Regions from separate parts of the Homo sapiens genome. Here regions 2 and 3 are each linked to region 1. Evidence: promoter capture Hi-C in human tissues and cell types (Jung and others, 2019). All regions are on one chromosome and are shown on one strand. The core of a region is centred on a gene start or on the middle of the fragment in contact, and the rest is flanking DNA. Distances in the headings are between cores, read along the strand shown.

Region 1 (2,516 bases), core at 12-2,511:
CTTATTAGGGCAATCGAAAACAAAAGTTTTCGTGGTTTCATTATTCGTATTATTTTATTTTCTTCCTGAAAATGTGCAAGAACAGCTCATCTGGGTGGCCTGTGGTTTGTTTGGGAGAGGGGTGGGGAAATTCATTCTGACTATAATTTAAAGAGAAGAAATTCTTAAAATAGATATGTCGATGTTGCACAAAACCTCCACCACCACTACCCTGCGTTCTAAAGACCCAAGGCACGAATGGAAGACGTTGACCACCACGCAGCTCCTCCTGCAACCAGGCCCAAGGGGTTCCTGGGGAAGCTGTCACAGAATTGAAAGCAGTATTGAACCCCACGGAAATCTGCTCTTGTGGGCACTTGCAAAACAACGAACCCCACGTGATCCGGAGATGTGGTGGAGGGGTGAGGCTAACATTTCCTACAACCTCCTGCAAAGGATGGAAGCGCGTGCCGCTCTCCCGGGTTTCGGGAGGCAGCCTGTTTTGTAGCCTCTGAGGCTCCGGGGAAAGGTTTGGCTGCGTCTAAGAGAGACGTTTGGAGCCATCCGTCTTATTTTGTTTGAAAAGTCACTCGTTCAATTTGTCACTGTGTGACAGCTCAGAATAAAACCAATTTGCGGCCGCCCCTCCTCCTCGCTTCCCGGAGGATCTCCTGGGAGGCACGAGGCGGACGCGGTGCTGAGTTGGGCCGGGACTCAGGGCGGCAACATTTGGGCAAGGGCCCAGGAAAGATGAGGGGCTTTGCCGAGGACACGGACTCCTGGAATAAAAGCAGAATGAGGTCAAGAGAAGGGAAGCAAAGGGGCCAAAGCGCGCTCCGCTCTCCACCGGGAGGCGGGCTTTGCAGAGCCCTAAAGAGTGAGATTACCGTCCCTTCCCCACGCCCCCAACTCGCCCCGGGTGACAAGCGCTTCAGGAAAGCTCCTGTGATCAACCCTCCTTGCCCCGTGGCGGTTCGGAGCTGCAGAAGTTAGAAGAGAGTCAGAGCCCTCCGGAGCGGCTGCCTGGCCCCTACGCAGAGTAGCAAGAAGCACTGCGATGTGCGCTACTAAGCCCACGCGGCCGCAGCAAAAACTTTGGCGTGGCCGGGGCGTGGCTAGGGTCCGGCCAGGCCCCCTTGTTCCTAATTCCCCTCCACTCCCCGCTCCCATTGGTCACGAGGATGACCAATGAGCGCTCGGATCGAGGTCCTACCCCGGGCCTGACTCGAAAGCTCCTGCCAAAACTTTGGGAGTTTTTAGAGACGAGTTTTTTTTTTTTTCTATTACTTTTCCCCCCCCCTAACTAACGGACTATTATTGTTGTTGTTTTAAATTTAGCTCTTAGGGCTTAGCTATTTGGGTTTTCTTGCGGTGTCCGGCTCCCGTCTCCCTGGCTCCCCCGCCCGCCCTGCGGCCCCAGCGCCCCTCGCTCTCATCCAGCCCGCGAGGAGTGCGGGCGCCGCGCCGCCTTTAAAGCGAGGCCAGGGAGCGAGGCGGTGACCGGCCGAGATCCGGCCCTCGCCTCCTCCCTCGGTGGCGCTAGGGCTCCCGGCCTCTCTTCCTCAGTGCGGGCGGAGAAGCGAAAGCGGATCGTCCTCGGCTGCCGCCGCCTTCTCCGGGACTCGCGCGCCCCTCCCCGCGCGCCCACCCACCCAGTCCGGCTGGACTGCGGCAGCCGCGCGGCTCACCCCGGCAGGATGTTCGCAGCCGGGCTGGCTCCCTTCTACGCCTCCAACTTCAGCCTCTGGTCGGCCGCTTACTGCTCCTCGGCCGGCCCAGGCGGCTGCTCCTTCCCCTTGGACCCCGCCGCCGTCAAAAAGCCCTCCTTCTGCATCGCAGACATTCTGCACGCCGGCGTGGGGGATCTGGGGGCGGCCCCGGAGGGCCTGGCAGGGGCCTCGGCCGCCGCCCTCACCGCGCACTTGGGCTCGGTTCACCCGCACGCCTCTTTCCAAGCGGCGGCCAGATCCCCGCTTCGACCCACCCCAGTGGTGGCGCCCTCCGAAGTCCCGGCTGGCTTCCCGCAGCGGCTGTCTCCGCTCTCAGCCGCCTACCACCACCATCACCCGCAACAACAACAGCAGCAGCAACAGCCGCAGCAGCAACAGCCTCCGCCTCCGCCCCGGGCTGGCGCCCTGCAGCCCCCGGCCTCGGGGACGCGAGTGGTTCCGAACCCCCACCACAGTGGCTCTGCCCCGGCCCCCTCCAGCAAAGACCTCAAATTTGGAATTGACCGCATTTTATCTGCAGAATTTGACCCAAAAGTCAAAGAAGGCAACACGCTGAGAGGTAGGTCTTGGGCGGGAGGCTGCAGGCCTCTGACCACTGACCCACTCCCCGGACCCCGGGCTGGCTTGGGGTGCCTTTGAGTGTTTTTACAATTAAGGACAAATCGGTAAAACGGGAGAGAAGAAAACGAATTGTAAGAAAACTACAAAACATTAGGTCTAAAACTCACCTGTTCTATGTAAAACAAACAAAAAATGACTCCAGGGATTCTTTAAAAACACGTCTTAGAATCAATATTTATAAAAGTG
Region 2 (2,516 bases), core at 11-2,510, 460 kb after region 1:
ATATGGATTTATTTGGAAAAATAAAGCCTTAAAATAGAAGTCCAAGCTTATCATGTGCAGGCCTTTTCCTGCCAACTTATAAGCAACAAACTGGTGTATTTCTTCTTCCTCTTTGAGATAGAGTACATTCCAAGAGGAAGTCGATGTCAAGTATTTGGATAAACAGCTAAGATTTGAGAACCAGCTCTCCAGCAATGGGGGAGGTTTTCTCTAATATGTCCTAAGGCTGGTGTGCTACAGGTTTGTAGCAATTATTTCTTTTTTTAAAAAGCATTTTCTTCTCATTAGGGAAAAGACTTCTTGAATGAACTAAAGGGGACAGATGGAGACTTGGAACATTGTCATCACCCTTGAGCCTCTGTAACTATGATTTCTAGGGCACTCAGGTAGTTTATTGGGCAGTCATCCGAGGGGAAACTAAACACATGTTAACATGGACTGGCAGCCCCTAGTCTAAATTCTTTCAGCCAGTGGTCCCCAACCTTTTTGGTACCAGGGATCGATTTTATTGAAGACAATTTTTTCCATGGATGAGGTTGGGTGGGGGATGGTTTCGGGATGAAACTGTTCCACCTCAGGTCCTCAGGCATTAGAGTCTCGTAAGAAGCACGTGACCTAGATCCCTGGCATGCGCAGTTCACAATAGGGTTCGCGTTCTTACGAAAATCTAATGCCGTGGCTGATCTGACAGGAGGCGAACCTCAGGCGGTAATGTTTCCTCGCCTTCCACTCACCTCCTCTGTATGGCCCGATTCCTAACAGGCTACTGACTGGTACAGGTCTGTGGCATTTGGGGACGGGGACTCCTGCTTTAAGCCATAGGGTAGCAATGCTTCATTTCCATCCAGAAAAGAGGAGAAAGCGCAAGGGATGGTTGTTGCAAAATCATGTTCCCCATCAAGGGAGTCTCTTGGAGACAGTGGAGTCACATAACCAGCATGGTGACAGCAGGAATCAAGCCAGCTCCTGAACCCAAGTAGGAAAGCAGGTGACTGAATGGCAAAAACTGCCAGATACAAATATTTTCTTTTGTGCTTCTCTGTTTTTGAAGCAGCTCATGCCCTGGGAAGATGAGGATGTCTTACAATTGTTTCCATTTAGTGATGCAGAAACTGTCACAACAATGAGTCACTGTTCTGTACAAAAGAGACCTTTGGTGGTGGAAAACTGGTGTGTGTGTGTGTGTGTGTCTGTGTGTGTGTGTGTGAGAGAGAGAGAGAGAGATTGCTCAAATTGCCATTGCCTAATCAGCCAGTAGTGATTGAATGGAGAAAGCCTTTGAACCAGATCTCAGATTCAGGGTGCTTTCATGGAGCAAAGAGAAAAAGACTGAGAAATTCACTATGGTGAGTATTGAGGTTGTACTGCAGCTCAGTCTGGAGAATTGAAGGCTCCTTCCTGAAAGGGTATGGGGACATAGAGAAAGATAGCATCAGTGGATCAAAGCTACCACATTTTTGCGGTTAGATGGAGATTACAGTAGGGAGTGACAGAGATAAAATGTTAAAAACCTCCAACATTCCAGTTTAGACACAGCCCCTCCCCTTTCTGGCCATAGTGACCGCTCTCTGGCAAGCACTGCCCAGGGAAGATAAATCAGTTAGCCAGTGGCCTAAGGGTTAGGACTTTAAAAAACAACAACAATAAAAAAACCAAGAAGTTATAAACCGTGAGTCCACAAGTGGCCCCAGGAGACTTGCCTTCTGCATTCTCTCTGTCTGCGCAGGACTGTGAGGCATCTCTGGGAAGCCATCAGCTCTCAGGGGCAGGCACAGGAAACAGCTCTTCTTGTTGGCAAAATCCAGTTCGGTGGTTTGGAACAGGGTAGACAGAGAAACAAACAAGTGTTTGTTCATAGGCTGAGACCTAGGGGGTGTATAAGGAGTAATGATCCTATCACCTAAGGAGGATGAATTCTGGGTCATTTTATGAACTGTCTTCCTTAGAAAAGCCTCCGAAGCAACTGGCAGATGAAAACTGGAAACTATTTTGAGCTGGGATCAGGGAGTCCAGGGAGCTCAGCAGACCAGGTTACTGCCACTGCCACTCACTAATTAAGCACATGGACAAATTGCTGCCTTTTCTTGGCCTCTTTTCCTCCTCATAAACAGATGAATCCAAAACTTTTCTAAATCCAAAACTCACCAGTTACTTTTCCTCTTGTCTGCTGATCTTTACTTTTTTTTTTTTTCTATGACACTGCATTTTTCCCCCCTGATGTCAGGATCCAAGAGAAAGTGAAAACCTTTCTCCTGATACGGTCAATACTGGAGAACTGGGAACAATGTCAGAATGACCGGCCACCCTGAGCCAGCCCCTTCAATGGCACTGCCCCTGGGGGCTGTTCAACATATAAACTGGGGCCATTTAACATATAAACTGAATTCAAAAGTTACTTCATGTTCTACAAAAAGAATATGTTTTATTTTTAATTTACCTTCATTTTCAAAAAAATCAAGATTCTCTCTTTAAGGTGCCCCGGGCCCTATGTGTCATGCAGTACCCATTTGCAGAAA
Region 3 (2,516 bases), core at 6-2,505, 430 kb after region 1:
ACCTCTTTGAAGTACTGCTTAATCGTCCCCCTTCCAAATCCTCATAATCCAACCCTCATGAAAAACCCTGGGGATTATTGATTGAGGGGGCCTTGGGGATCCCTAAAGGCACTGCAGCTCAGACACCAGCCTGTCCTGGAGGTGCGGCTGCAGGCTGCACCCGGAATGCATGCCAGGTGTGGCTGGGCTTGCTGCACCAACCTGGAGGGCCAGGCCAGCTCCTCCCAGGCAGGGACAGGGTGGAGCCCAGGGAGAAGGCACCAAGGTGAGCCATGCCCACTTTAAAGGTAGGGATTTCTATGCATGTAACAAAATATCACATGTACCCTGTAAATACGTACACGTATTTTTTATCAGTAAAAAAAGAGTGGAGGATTTTCCTCTTAATAACTGTCTTGCTTAAAACAACATTCTTTGGAGCTTATAGTTTGAGATAGGACCTCTTATTTAAATAATTAATTAATCAATTGTAATTAATTTAAATGAAAATAATTCAAACAGTTTATTTTCGGTAATTTAAGTACTTTAATTAAATTTAATTCATTTAATTGATTTCATTTACTGTCATAATCTGTGCCTCCTCTTTAAGCCCAGATCCTTTAGCTGCCCTGTGCTACTTTTCAGTCAGGCCGTGCAGCGCCTTATTTAACAAGATTTTGATATATCCATACAGTCCCCACCTGGAATGTCTTTCCTTCTCCTCTCTACTTTATGAAATCCTTCTAATTGGTCAAGGTCTGGCTCAAATGTCACCTTTCTTATGAAGCCTTCCCAAGTTCCTGGGATGACTTAGTCACTTCCCCCTTTCTGTTGCCATTATACTTTGTTCATGCCACTATTTTAGCACTGTTAATGCTTGTATCTGTTACATTAGTATAGTTGTTTATTTGTTCAACTCATCCCTTATCTCCTGGGTTCCAGGCACTGGGCTGGGTGCTGCAGATACAAAGTTGAACAAGATACAGTGCTTGATTTTGAGGAAATCACAGAGATGTGAGGATCCCAAGGTCATGGGGAAAAGATGAAAATTACCAGGTGAGAGGAATATACTAGTTGTTATACTAAAACGTTCTCTGAGGTCTTAGGTAGAGAGCCACTGGGTTGTAAAAACTTGAGAGCTGTCTTACTGGGGACACCCAGTAGGGTGCTCGCACTCCCCAGTGCTCACTAAATCTCAATGGAATAATTGGTGCAGTTGAAAGATGCCTGATTAGACTTGAATTTCCAGGTTGGAGTTCCAAGTTGTGCCTCTTAGAAGATGCGTAATGTAATCAGATCATGCAAACACTCTGTCTTCCTTTCTCATAAATGAAATGGATATAGTAAGAATAATCTTCTTCTAGCACTGTTAGGAGAAGCAAATGAAGAAATGTAAGTAAAGGCAATTTGAACCCTCTGGAGGTAAATAAAGGTAATGCCCCCTTGTAAATACTGTTACCTTCGTGACTTAGAGCAATTCTTTCTACTGACAAGGACTCTATACATGAAACCCTATGGGATTAACTATATGATCTGGAAAGCTAAAACTATGGCTGGAGCTAGGAGAGTCAACAAGGGACAGGAAGGTCCTGTTTGTTTTCACTCCTCCTGGGCATTGGTCCATATGTTTGCTTGGAGACCATAGGGTTTAGAGATTTGAGATAACTACAAAATCTCTTTAAAGTGCAATTGTTCAGTTCTATTTTATGTATAACAGAATCAGTGCACAAAAATATCCACATGTCCTAAGAAGGACTATCCAAATAGCTTTTTTATGGTCTGATGGAAATAACTCCTGTCAGACTCAGAAACAGGCAGATGTCTGTAGCTGTTATAGGTGGGCCTTGAAACTTGCTGTCATGTTCAGATTTCTTCTCATTGTCTTTATAACTGTGGTCAGGAATGAACAATAGCCTGTTAGCATGAGTCTGAGGGTAGATAAATCCATCATTGGTTTAGGCAGCTTTGCATTGCACCATAGTGCTAAAAAACACTAAATTAATCAGCTGGTAGAAAGACACCCTTGGAGGTGAATGGATGGAAGAAGATGTGAATAGAAAGGAACGCATTTGGACAGGGATCTATTTATCACTTCACCTTAAGTGCTTTGTGGGCCTATAAAAATATGGAAATGTGTGACAGAGTAGAATAAGCAAGGAAGGGTGGCAAAAGCTTCCAAGGGAAGGAATGATGCTTTTCTTCTCACAGTAAAGTCCAGTTACATGAAAATGGTTTTGGAAAAATTTTTGACTATCCTTGCCACATGAAATGGCATTTGTTGGATGAGATCATATGCAATGAGAAATAAAACCCCATTTAGCTTGCAAAAATTAAAACAAAGGCTTTTCAATGAGTTCAGGTGATCCTTGATGTACAATTCTGTCAGAAGCTGAGTTTAGCCTGCATAGTTCACTAGCCCCTAAACATCCTTGCCACATGGAGGTGAAGCCAAGAGTCCAGGCAGCCACAGTGAGCTAGCTATGAGGTGCACTGTGGAGTGGAGCAGCACCACTCAGCACATATCTGGGAAACCACTC

Evidence for each region. Contacts are between HindIII fragments. The study calls those that stand out against the background at their distance.
Region 2: a contact is called between a fragment that was not itself captured here and the fragment with the promoter of HLX in region 1, in 1 of the 25 tissues and cell types used here (IMR-90 fibroblasts).
Region 3: a fragment that was not itself captured here is called in contact with the fragment with the promoter of HLX in region 1 in 1 of the 25 tissues and cell types used here (IMR-90 fibroblasts).

Annotation. Positions count from the first base shown.
Region 1 is chr1:220,878,182-220,880,697 of GRCh38, forward strand. HLX (H2.0 like homeobox) reads left to right here and starts at 1,262. Exons shown (of 4, transcript NM_021958.4): 1 at 1,262-2,268. The coding sequence starts at 1,677. It overlaps HLX-AS1 (HLX antisense RNA 1), which reads right to left and starts at 1,959. Exons shown (of 3, transcript NR_046901.1): 1 at 1,668-1,959. RefSeq lists a silencer at 819-868 and an enhancer at 1,987-2,516. The HindIII fragment of the contact is 15,886 bases long and covers 1-2,516 here.
Region 2 is chr1:221,334,163-221,336,678 of GRCh38, forward strand. It overlaps LINC02817 (long intergenic non-protein coding RNA 2817), which reads right to left and starts at 2,134. Exons shown (of 2, transcript NR_024236.1): 1 at 1,701-2,134. All of the region lies in intron 2 of LOC105372932 (a long non-coding RNA gene), which reads left to right. RefSeq lists an enhancer at 1,264-2,463. The HindIII fragment of the contact is 3,465 bases long and covers 1-2,516 here.
Region 3 is chr1:221,305,942-221,308,457 of GRCh38, forward strand. It overlaps LOC105372932 (a long non-coding RNA gene), which reads left to right. Exons shown (of 4, transcript XR_922621.2): 2 at 922-1,035. Among named protein-coding and RNA genes, the nearest start is that of LINC02817, 29 kb to the right of the region's middle. The HindIII fragment of the contact is 3,269 bases long and covers 1-2,516 here.